4 separate regions of the Homo sapiens genome follow, and all the other regions are linked to region 2. The links are contacts of gene promoters, found by promoter capture Hi-C in blood cells and fetal thymus (Javierre and others, 2016). All regions are on one chromosome and are shown on one strand. Each heading gives the region's core, a stretch centred on a gene start or on the middle of the fragment in contact. The rest is flanking DNA. Distances are from core to core; before and after follow the strand shown.

Evidence for each region. Contacts are between HindIII fragments. The CHiCAGO score rates a contact against its expected background, and 5 or more counts as called.
Region 1: a fragment that was not itself captured here is called in contact with the fragment with the promoter of CCDC86 in region 2 in 1 of 17 cell types (naive CD8 T cells); the score reaches 5.9 in naive CD8 T cells.
Region 3: a fragment that was not itself captured here is called in contact with the fragment with the promoter of CCDC86 in region 2 in 1 of 17 cell types (naive CD4 T cells); the score reaches 5.4 in naive CD4 T cells.
Region 4: a contact is called between a fragment that was not itself captured here and the fragment with the promoter of CCDC86 in region 2, in 1 of 17 cell types (naive CD8 T cells). The highest score is 5.6, in naive CD8 T cells.

Annotation. Positions count from the first base shown.
Region 1 is chr11:61,062,840-61,065,674 of GRCh38, forward strand. The region is part of intron 3 of LINC02954 (long intergenic non-protein coding RNA 2954); the gene reads left to right. The region is part of intron 1 of LOC105369325 (a long non-coding RNA gene); the gene reads right to left. Among named protein-coding and RNA genes, the nearest start is that of LINC02954, 8.9 kb to the left of the region's middle. The HindIII fragment of the contact is 1,937 bases long and covers 562-2,498 here.
Region 2 is chr11:60,840,456-60,843,387 of GRCh38, forward strand. It overlaps CCDC86 (coiled-coil domain containing 86), which reads left to right and starts at 1,658. Exons shown (of 4, transcript NM_024098.4): 1 at 1,658-2,427. The coding sequence starts at 1,670. It overlaps CCDC86-AS1 (CCDC86 antisense RNA 1), which reads right to left. Exons shown (of 2, transcript NR_182293.1): 2 at 1,351-1,525. RefSeq lists enhancers at 748-1,947, 1,854-2,083. The HindIII fragment of the contact is 9,112 bases long and covers 1-2,932 here.
Region 3 is chr11:61,085,567-61,088,325 of GRCh38, forward strand. All of the region lies in intron 1 of LOC105369325 (a long non-coding RNA gene), which reads right to left. Among named protein-coding and RNA genes, the nearest start is that of CD5, 16 kb to the right of the region's middle. The HindIII fragment of the contact is 5,909 bases long and covers 1-2,759 here.
Region 4 is chr11:61,045,261-61,048,277 of GRCh38, forward strand. The region is part of intron 1 of LOC105369325 (a long non-coding RNA gene); the gene reads right to left. Among named protein-coding and RNA genes, the nearest start is that of LINC02954, 8.6 kb to the right of the region's middle. The HindIII fragment of the contact is 3,449 bases long and covers 1-3,017 here.

The DNA of each region.
Region 1 (2,835 bases), core at 280-2,779, 220 kb after region 2:
TCCTACTGCGTGGAGATGAGTCCAGCAGCTCCCTGGAAGAGGGACTGCATGGAGCATAAGACTGCAGCAGGGAAGAGGAGGAGAGGATAAAGTACTGTTCATGCAGGATCAGAACCGGGGCAAGTGTGAAGAGGTCCCTCTACTGAACTTCTACGGAGGTTGATTTTACCGGAAATCTTTTCTCTATTTTCTCCCTGGGGCTCAGGATATAAGCTATACTTAGCAAGCAGTACTTTTTCATATGGAAGACTAAGATTCGCAGAGACCCTGCCAAGGCAACTTACATAGAGCCAAAGGAGAAAAATTAGGCAGATGCTCTCGGGGGAGTTAATTTTAAGGCATTACAGCATTTAATACACAGATTCCACTTCAGTGTTAAACCAAACCAGTCGCAGAGGCTTAAAAAACAGTGGCCAGGTCAACCACTTCACTTTACTCCCAGCCCCCAAAACCTCTCCTGCCCACCATGTTTTCAACTTGAAGCCACACTGAACCATGGAGCACTGTTAGGAAGGCTGGAGGTGGGCAGAGGGGACAGCCCGAGATCATGGTGCCACGAGAAGCTTCCCTCCAGTTGGGGAGATGGGGCCAAGCCCCATGGACCACGAGTGAGAAAGACACATCATGTTTCTATTTCACGTGTGCCATTCACGTGCTTAGTTCTGGGACGCTGCAGAGAAGCAGCAGTTACAGACCTGCTGATGGTGTGGTCAGGAAAGAAGCAGGAAAAGGGTGGGGCACGGTGGTGGCTCACGCCTGTAATCCCAGCACTTTGGGAGGCCGAGGCAGGCGGGTCACCTGAGGTCAGGAGTTCAAGACCACCTGGCCAACATGGTGAAACCCTGTCTCTACAAAAATAAAAAATTAGCTAGGCATGATGGCGGGCGCCTGTAGTCCCAGCTACTCGGGAGGCTGAGTCAAGAGAATTGCTTGAATCCGGGAGGCGAAGGTTGCAGTGAGCCGAGATCACGCCACTGCACTCTAGCCTGGGCAACTGATCGAGACTCTGTCTCAAAAAAAAAAAAAAAAAAGCAGGAAAGTAATTTGACAACTAGGAGATCTATGACAACACTTCACTCAGCTGTGGAAAGGTCTTGGGTGTTAGGGTCACATTTGACAATTCTGCCTGTTTGCTGTGTGGCACTGATGCCTGGCTGAGCTTCTCTGTGTCTGTCTCCTCATCTTTTAAATGAGAGCGCTTTGTACACTGGGAAGTGACCTGTGGATGTGAGAGGCCCTGTTGCTATGTGTCCTCTTCATCATTGCTTGCCTATTTTACTATATTTTTTTTTTTGAGACGGAGTCTCGTTCTATTGCCCAAGCTAGAGTACAGTGGCGTGATCTCTGCTCACTGCAACATTCGCCTCCCAGGTTCAAGTGATTCTCCAGCCTCAGCCTCCTGAGTAGCTGGGACTATAGGCACGTGCCACCACATCCAGCCAATTTTTGTAGTTTTAGTAGAGACAGGGTTTTACCATGTTGGCTAGGCTGGCCTCAAACTCCTGACTTCAGGTGATCTGCCTGCCTCGGCCTCCCAAAGTGCTGGGATTACAGGTGTGAGCCACCGCGCCTGGCCACTTGCCTGTTTTTCAATCCAGGGCTGGTCCCCCGGCTGGAAGTCTGCAGAGAGGGTCGAGCCCTCCATCTTTCCTTCTCTCCCTTCCCAAAGTTTCCCAGCTCTGCTGCTATCCCAGGACCCTTTCTTAGGCTATAAAATCCACACGAAGGTGCTATTCAAAAAGATTCCCGCATTTCCTACTTTGAAAGGGCACCCTAAGGAGTGACTAACAGTGATATTTCAGGAGGCACTGGGTGGTCGTGTCTTGAGCGCTCAGATTCTACCCCATGAGCATCTACATTCAATCAAGCCAGAGACCAAGATAAAAGCTAAAAAACCCAACCAAGTTTCCAGGTTTTCATAGTGGTTGGCTCCATGTAGACTGGAATTAGCAAACAGGTTTCAATCCATGTACCAGATCTGATGGTATGAAACACTGATTATGGCCGGACACTGTGGCTCATACCTGTAATCCCAGTACTTTGGGAGGCCAAGGCAGGAGAACTGCTTGAGCCGAGGAGTTTGAGACCAACCTGGGCAACATAGCGAGACCCCGTCTCTACAAAAAAAAATAATAATAATAATAATTAGCTGGACATGGTGGTGTGTGCCTGGGGTGCCAACTACTCGGGAGGATGAGGTGGGAAGATCACTTGAGCCTGGAAGGTTCAGACTGCAGTGAGCTATTATTGTGCCACTGCACTCCAGCCAGAGCAACAGAGTGAGACCTTGTCTCGAAAAAAAAAAAAAAAAAAAGAAAGCAAGAAAGAAAAGAAAAAGAAACACCGATTATGCAGAGAATCAGTCTGAGCCGCGTCTGAACTCAGCAGACACGCATACTATGATGGAGTAGAGATGCTGTCGGGAGCACACAGAGCAGTCATATGCGTGTTGCATATTTGTTACTGTGTAGACAAAACACCTAGGCCAGGGTTGTCCAAGCTTTTGGCTTCCGTGGGCCACACTGGGAGAATTATCTTGGGCCACGCATGAAATACACTGACACGGCAGGGCGCGGTGGCTCATGCTTGTAATCCCAGCACTTTGGGAGGCCAAAGCGGGCGGATCACCTGAGGTCAGGAGTTCAACACCAGCCTAGCCAACATGCAGCCTGGCCGTCTCAACTGAAAATACAAAAAGTAGCTGGGCATGATGGCTGGCGTCTGTAATCCCAGCTACTCGGGAGGCTGAGGCCGGAGAATCCCTTGAACCCAGGAGGCAGAGGTTGCAGTGAGCTGAGATCACGCCACTGCACTCCAGTCTGGCGACAAGAGTGA
Region 2 (2,932 bases), core at 408-2,907:
GCCTCCTCTAAAACACATCTCCCTCTCTCTGGTGAAAACCTGAGATCACCCTCTGAAGTATTTCAGGCTAGACTAGGATATGATCCAATCGGCACTGGAGAGTGATCCCTCCAGCTGGGGACAAGAGCTTAGGAGGCAGGGCAAGCCAAGGGGGACTGGAGCAGGGCAGAGGGGCATACAGTCTCCTCCAGCACTCTGGCAACACCTGCCGGGCTTGGTTCTGAGTGTCAGATCATTGGGGTCTCCAGGCAGGGGCAGGGCATTTAAGGAACTGAATGGAACTCACTCCTCTGACAGTTGGGGGGTGGAAGAGCTGGGCAAGGAGGTGTCCCGGCTGCTTCTGCTGTGGACAGCTGCATGGCCGGAGAGGAGCAGTGAGGCAGGCAAAGCCCCCCTGCAGGGGTCTCCTTGACTCAGGAACATGAGGAAGATGAGGACACTCTGATCCCTGATATTCTTGGACAATTTCCCAGGCCCTCTCACAAGCCCGCAGCTGGAGAAACAATGGTTTCTAAAAGAAACCACTGGAATGTCAGACGGGGCCCTGGGACCTTTAATGGCCAACCCCAGGCAGTTCCAAGAATTACACAACTGGGCCACTTCCAAGATGTTCTTCCTAAGAAGCATGCTGTAAGTAAATCAAAGCCCCACTCCTAGGTCTCACACGAAAGTCTCCACAGCCCCACATTCCCCAACCCCACATCCCGAGAGTCTTCTCTAGGCCTTGGGAGGTCCAGAAGTCAACACCTGCTCACTGGTGAGGTCCCAAAGTGCTTAGTAAGCAAAGTACATTTACAGGTGAATAGCAAGGGAAGGGAGGGGAGGCGAAGCAGGTTCACACACGAGCAAAAACCACTGTCTGGGCTGAAAGGAAGATCGGAGATGATCCAACCCGTTTCTAGAACTGGGGTAGAAGAAGAGGGACGTGGGAGGATATGCAGCTGGTCGAGGGCCCAGGTGAGCCACAGGACAAAGGTGGTGCATCTTATTGGTACCTCAACTTCCCTCACAAACGTTGAAAACGCTGAAAAGGGAGGGAGAGCTATGGATTATATACGGAAGCACAGGACGGAAGAATCAAGAGTGTGAACAATTAACACAGAAAAGACCGATCTTCCACCTCCAGGACCCCCAGGTAGCAGTCCCTCAGGTAGGTGGGAGGAGGACTCTGACAGGATCATTTGGGATGCACGAAGCTAGTGCAAAATGACCCCTATTACAAATGAGAAAACAGGCCCAAGGAGGGCAGGACTCTGCCCAACTGCACCGGAGTTGGCTGCAAAACATCCACTGGGCCTTGCCTATGGGCTCCTCGGACCTTTTTTCGACTCTGTTCTCTCCCTGAAATGGGTCCTCCCACTTTCCCTTTTCTACTTGCTCGCTCTTCTTTCCCCAGGAAACTTTGCAAGAAAGGCAAAAGCGAATCCCAGGAAAAAGACTGGCTCATCAATCACATGTTGACTGCGCTCGCGCGAATTGCGCATGCGCATGCTGAGCCCCACTCTCCCCAACCCCGGTCCCGCCTCTCCACCCCTCACCAACATGGCCGCCTCAGCAACAGCCCCCCTCCTGTGCGTCACGGACGCGGCGACTCCTGACGTCATAGGAAGGCGCCGGTTTCGGCGGGGGCTGCACGTGCGCAGGGGTGTGGAAACTTACCGGCTGAGCCATGGATACACCGTTAAGGCGCAGCCGACGGCTGGGAGGCCTAAGGCCCGAATCCCCCGAGAGCCTCACCTCAGTTTCGCGGACGAGACGGGCCCTTGTGGAGTTCGAGTCGAACCCAGAAGAAACGAGGGAGCCCGGGTCTCCTCCGAGTGTGCAGCGGGCTGGCCTGGGGTCCCCCGAAAGGCCGCCGAAGACAAGCCCAGGATCACCCCGTCTGCAGCAGGGTGCAGGCTTGGAGTCACCCCAAGGGCAGCCAGAGCCAGGCGCAGCGTCCCCCCAGCGTCAGCAAGACCTACACCTGGAGTCGCCTCAAAGACAGCCAGAGTACAGTCCTGAATCCCCACGATGTCAGCCGAAGCCAAGTGAGGAGGCACCAAAGTGTTCTCAGGACCAGGGAGTACTGGCCTCGGAGTTGGCCCAGAATAAGGAGGAGCTGACCCCGGGGGCCCCCCAGCATCAGCTACCGCCGGTCCCAGGATCACCAGAGCCTTACCCCGGTCAGCAAGCTCCCGGTCCGGAGCCCTCTCAGCCACTACTGGAGCTGACACCCAGGGCACCTGGCTCCCCCCGGGGTCAGCATGAGCCGAGCAAGCCACCTCCAGCTGGGGAGACGGTGACAGGCGGCTTCGGGGCAAAGAAGCGAAAAGGTTCTTCATCCCAGGCCCCAGCGTCCAAGAAGTTGAATAAAGAGGAGCTTCCTGTAATCCCGAAGGGGAAGCCCAAATCGGGGCGAGTGTGGAAGGACCGCTCCAAGAAAAGGTGAAGTGGGGGACAGCATGGACAGGGGTGGCGTTCTCTATGGTGTTGGGACCCCGCCTTTGCCCTGCTGCAGCCTGGAGAATAGCCCCAGGGTTAGAGAGAGCTCACGTTAGTGGGGATGTTAGCAAACAGGTAATTACAATCAGAATGTGGTAAAATGCCCTGGGATCCCGGAGAGGGTGGGGCCAGGCCCTCAAAGATCAATTTCTCTGATGCCTTTCCTCCTCAGGGTCCCTATGGGCCTCTCCTGTAGCACCTCAGGTCTGTATTCGTTCAACAGACATTTACCGTTGTCTGCCCTCTCTAGTGAGAGAAGCAGAAGCAAGTAAACCAGCCATTACTTGATCAAAGCAGTGAGGTCTTCATCCAATATAGTCTATTACAGTTATTTGCCTTTAAGATAAAAAGTATTACTGAGCACTGATTATATAAGGATTTACCAGTCAACAGCCTTAATAAGGATTTACCAGTCAACAGCCTTTCAAACATGGAACAGCATGTGTCA
Region 3 (2,759 bases), core at 159-2,658, 240 kb after region 2:
AAAAGAAGACATTTATGCAGCCAAAAAACACATGAAGAAATGCTCATCATCACTGGCCATCAGAGAAATGCAAATCAAAACCACTATGAGATATCATCTCACACCAGTTAGAATGGCAATCATTAAAAAGTCAGGAAACAACAGGTGCTGGAGAGGATGCGGAGAAATAGGAACACTTTTACACTGTTGGTGGGACTGTAAACTAGTTCAACCATTGTGGAAGTCAGTGTGGCGATTCCTCAGGGATCTAGAACTAGAAATACCATTTGACCCAGCCATCCCATTACTGGGTATATACCCAAATGAGTATAAATCATGCTGCTATAAAGACACATGCACACGTATGTTTATTGCGGCACTATTCACAATAGCAAAGACTTGGAACCAACCCAAATGTCCAACAATGATAGACTGGATTAAGAAAATGTGGCACATATACACCATGGAATACTATGCAGCCATAAAAAATGATGAGTTCATATCCTTTGTAGGGACATGGATGAAATTGGAAACCATCATTCTCAGTAAACTATCGCAAGAACAAAAAACCAAACACCGCATATTCTCACTCATAGGTGGGAATTGAACAATGAGATCACATGGACACAGGAAGGGGAATATCACACTCTGGGGACTGTGGTGGGGTCGGGGGAGGGGGGAGGGATAGCATTGGGAGATATACCTAATGCTAGATGACACATTAGTGGGTGCAGCGCACCAGCATGGCACATGTATACATATGTAACTAACCTGCACAATGTGCACATGTACCCTAAAACTTAGAGTATAATAAAAAAAAAAAAAAAAAAAGAATAAAATCTAAATTTCTTAAAAAAAAAAAAAATAAAAAAAATAAAAAATAAAAATTAGCCAGACGTGGTGGTGCACACCTGTAATCCCAGCTGCTCGGGAGGCTGATGCAGGAGACTCATTTGAACCTGGGAGGCAGAAGCTGCAGTGAGCCAAGATGGCACCACTGCACTCCAGCCTGGGTGACAGACTCTTGTCTCAAAATAATAAATAAATAAAATAAAGTTCAAAGAAAAGGCAAAGCCAATCTATGATGACAGAAGTCAGGACAGTGGATACTTGGGTAGGGAGCAGTGCGGGGCAGTGGGGAGCCTCCCAGGTGCTGGTTACACCAGCACGTGCAGTGTGTGAAGTTACATTTATAACACACTGCATGTACTGTGCTGTGTGTATCCCATATATAAGTAAAAAGTTGTTGTTGTTTTAAATTAAGCATCTGGGTTCCAGCCCAGCTTTACCACCTGGATGGTGTATAATCTCAGGCTAATTAAACTCTCTGAGTATCTACTCACTCTTCTGCAAAATAGAATAAAAATGATATCTGCCCCAAATGCTTCCAAATGTCAATGATTCAAAATTTCCATTCACGTTTACCTTATCCAAGTACCAAATATTATTTTTACTTAATATTTTTCCTTTAAATCAACTCACTAGTTAATCTAAAAATGAAATGTATAAACCATGAATCTGGTGAGCTAGTTATCTATTTTCAGTATATAAATTAATATAAAGTAAAACAAACACATTATTAAGATAAAAATGTTCATCTGTGAGCCACCTCAAGTCATCCTCCACATCAGTGAAGGTGGTATGTATATATTAACTCTGTCACCCAGGTTGGAGTGCAGTGGCATGATCACAGCTCACTGCAGCCTCAACCTCCTGGGCTCAAGCAATCCTCCCATCTCTGCCTCCCAAGTGGCTGGGACTACAGGCACACACCACCATGCCTGGATAATTTTTTTTTAATTTTTTTATAGAGACAGGGTTTCACCGTGTTGCCCAGGCTGGTCTTTAACTCCTGGGCTCAAGTGATTCTCCTGCCTCGGCCTCCCAAAGTGCTGGGATTACAGGCACGAGCCACTACGCCCGGCCAAGGTGTCATACTCACTCTGGGGAAAAAAACTAAGATAATGTAATTACATAGAGTCCCTAGCACTGTGTAAGCCCTTAGTAAATGGTAGCTATTATCACCACCATCATCATCATCATCGACTTCATCAACATTACTGACATCATCATCACCATCATCTTCATCATTTCATCATCACCATCAGCATCATTACTGCCATTATCATCATTCTCATCATTGACATGATCATCACTATCATCATCACCACATATAACACCAATAAGTATTTGTTTCCAGATCATCCCACAGGGTCAACCCAACATGGCCCTGGCCTCAGAAGAGCTTACAGAATTAGGAACATATAACCCATGCTGAAGTGTTGGGGCTTGCTGGGACACATATCGAGGTGAGCGCTCCACATCGGTGTGGATGGGGTAGAAGTTGTTGAGCTATGCCCTCCCACCCTCCACACCAGACCAGAACCGACTCTCTCCAGATTGCCTTGGGGACCTGCCTCTTGCCACAGGCCAAGGCTGACTGCACCTGGACCCATCCCCTCATCTCTCAGAACTTCAGTCTCCTCATCTCTGAAACAAGGCTGGTGACCTCAGCTCCTCCAAACCTCCCAGCAATGGGCAAAGGGAAGGACCCGCCATCAAAGACAAACAGAAGTCACTCGAGGAATGTCCTGGACATTCAGTAAATGATCACAAACATGTCTCACTTTTATATCAAATTTGTCCCCCAAGGTGGAGTCCTGGACACTCACTAATGATCACAAACATGTCTTATTCTTATATCAAACCTGTCCCTCGAGGTGGACCTGGACCTCTTCCACACTGACAGTCACAGGGCACCTAGAGTGCCCATCATGGAA
Region 4 (3,017 bases), core at 308-2,807, 200 kb after region 2:
CACACATACAAATACCATTTGGGTTTAGGGAGAACTGCCTTCAACCTATAAGTTACGATACTTGGGGCCTCTGTCCCTCATTCCCCTGGGATCTTTATTGGAGTCAGCTGGAAGGGATGCCAAGGTCAGGAAGCCAATATGATATGATGCCCACAGCACCCCAGAGCTCTGCACCAGCCTCCAGGTTGCCAGGCGTGCTCAAAGATGATTCATTAATTAGTAAGTATTTTTAAAAGACAGTCATCACGTCCATGAGATCGGGGTCAAATAGGCACTCCCTTGTGCTTCAGGTTGGAATGTAAATTGAGAGACAGCTTTTAAAAGCAACTGGAAAATGCGTACCGAGGGCTTTAACAATGCCTGCGCTTTTGACCAGGAGACCCACATTTAGAAACTGCCAAGAAAACAGTGTAGACAAACATATACGCACAAAGATGTCCTCTACTATATAAGGAAAAACTAGAATGAGATGTCTAACATCTAGGAAACCCATCTGGTAAATGCCGGTATCTAGATCTAAGAGAATTTCATGCAGTTTTCAGAAGGGATTCTTCTTACAAAATCCCAGCAAGATGTACAGCAAACAAGCCTAGGAGGGCTGCCCACGATGCTCTGAATGGTAGATTTGGATGGGATTCTTTTTTCTCTTTCTAGTTTTTAAAATAGTTTTCCAAGTTTTGTGCCATAAACATGTATTTCCTTGATAATTTTTTTGAAACCTATTTTAAATGAGCAATTAACATGTTTAAAAATTAATATAGGCCAGGTGCGGTGGCTCACGCCTGTAATCCCAGCACTTTGGGAGGCCGAGGCAGGCGGATCATGAGGTCAGGAGATCAAGACCATCCTGGCTAAAACGGTGAAACCCCGTCTCTACTAAAAATACAAAAAAAAAATTGCCCGGGCGTGGTGGTGGGCGCCTGTAGTCCCAGCTACTCGGGAGCCTGAGGCGGGAGAATGGTGTGAACCTGGGAGGCGGAGCTTGCAGTGAGCCGAGATGGCACCACTGCACTCCAGCCTGGGCGACTGAGTGAGACTCCGTCTCAAAAAAAAAAAACATTAATGTAACTTTTTATTATAACAAATCCACACTCATAGAAAGGAAACAAGAAAAAAAAAGGCTAAACACTGCACAAAATCTCTAAAGAAGGTAAAAATAATCTGGAATCCTACCACCTGGAGATAACCACCTCTATACATACACATACCTATATGTAGACACACATACAGAGACACATGCATGTTATTTGCAAATTGCTTCTTTTCCTCATCAATATGTCATGGACATCCTTCCACAGCAATAAAAGTCCATCAACCTCATTCTTTCTTAATGGTCCATGTGAAAATATTTCCACCCATACATCTTGTCTTATGGACGTACCATTATTTATTTAACCAATGCTCTATTGATGCACCTTGAAGTTGTTTGCAATATTTCACTTAATCATTAACATACCAATAAATGATATGGACTGCGGGAGTCAGCCTCTGCTGTAGTGTTAATATTCTACTGTGAATTCACTATTCAGGTCAGGGCATCAGTTTCGTCCCTTGTAAGACAAGGACATGGCGATTCCTGAGGTGCCTCCAGCTGTAGTATTCTCTGATTTCCTGCAGTGGCAGCTGGTTTCTCAAGAATATGAAGTGCTCAATGTAATTTAGAGCAATCTGCACAGCTAAGAATAGGGATCCTCTCTAAAATGATACTGTGGAAGCCCTCAAATTACCACCAGACTTCAACAGTACATATTTCCCGATCTGCAGGGTGACTGGAAGGTGGCTTCTGATGCCAACTTGGGCTACAATCATGCTGGAATGCAGCTCTGTCTTCAGTCAGGCCAGTAGCATTCAAAGAAGCACAACTGTGCAGCCATCTGCCTTTCTCCCAGTGGTCGAGTTCTCTTTTTCTACAGACTGCTCTCAGAGTTCTGCCCATTTTCTTTACCTGCACTTTTCCTTGAACCTCAAACATACATACATATTAGGATGCCTTGAGCTCGGTGTTTGCTCTGCAGCAAATCTCTCAATAATCCACCTGCTATCAGCATCACACCCCTGACAAATGCTCCTAATGGGCCTCTTCCCAGAAAAGAGCTTTTGATGTTGCATAGCAAGCATGAGAGTGAGATTCAACCAGGCAGACTGGCTTTATCCAACCACAGTAACAACAAACCTTAACTGGGCACCTACTATGTGCCAGGCACACTTCACTTTTGCACATCACTTCATTTCTGAAGACTGGCCAGTTTCTGAAGGCAGTTAGGAAAAACCCTTGTTGAGAATTCCAGCTTTAAAAAGTGCCTCTGACTCTAGAAACCAGGTTTAGAAAAGCCAGTCCTCTGATGCATAAATCCCCGCTACAACAGTAATCGCACCTAGCAGCTTGTATCATTCACAAGCATTCACTTGCTTTGGCCCTGAAGAGCTGCTTTTACTGACTTGTGCTTTGGGGCAGACCTTCAGGAATTGAGGGATTTTGTGGGAAACAGCATGATGAAACTTGCTGTTTGTTGCTCATAAAGATGACGAGAATGTCTTTTGAGACAGTAGAGAGGGTCCTCAAGCCTCTGGGTTTGCCTCTTTGCCTTGGCCACCAGGAAGCTCAGAATCAAACCAGTGTCCCACCACCTACAACATGAACAGACCTTTTGATATGATGCATCATGTGGATAACTTTCTCATCAATTCATCTTTTCACCCGTGCTTTCCTATCACACAGAGTTCTCTGGGTTATTTTTCATCCTGCTCCGTTTTGTGTACTGTTGCCTCATACTTATGGTGAATGGGAAGGGAAATAAATGTTACAAGTCAGAGACAGGACAAAAGACTGGCCCCCTAGCTCCCAGCCCTTTCCCCCACCTTTGATGATTGGGCCACCTGAAGAGGGGTGTCACTTTGATGGGCTGATCCGAGTCACCCCCAGTCACTGCAATTTCAGAACAAAGTGCACCGTGGGCCCTTTCCACATCTTCTTCAACCACCTCACCTTTTGTTCTTACCCATCAAAACAGATCTGA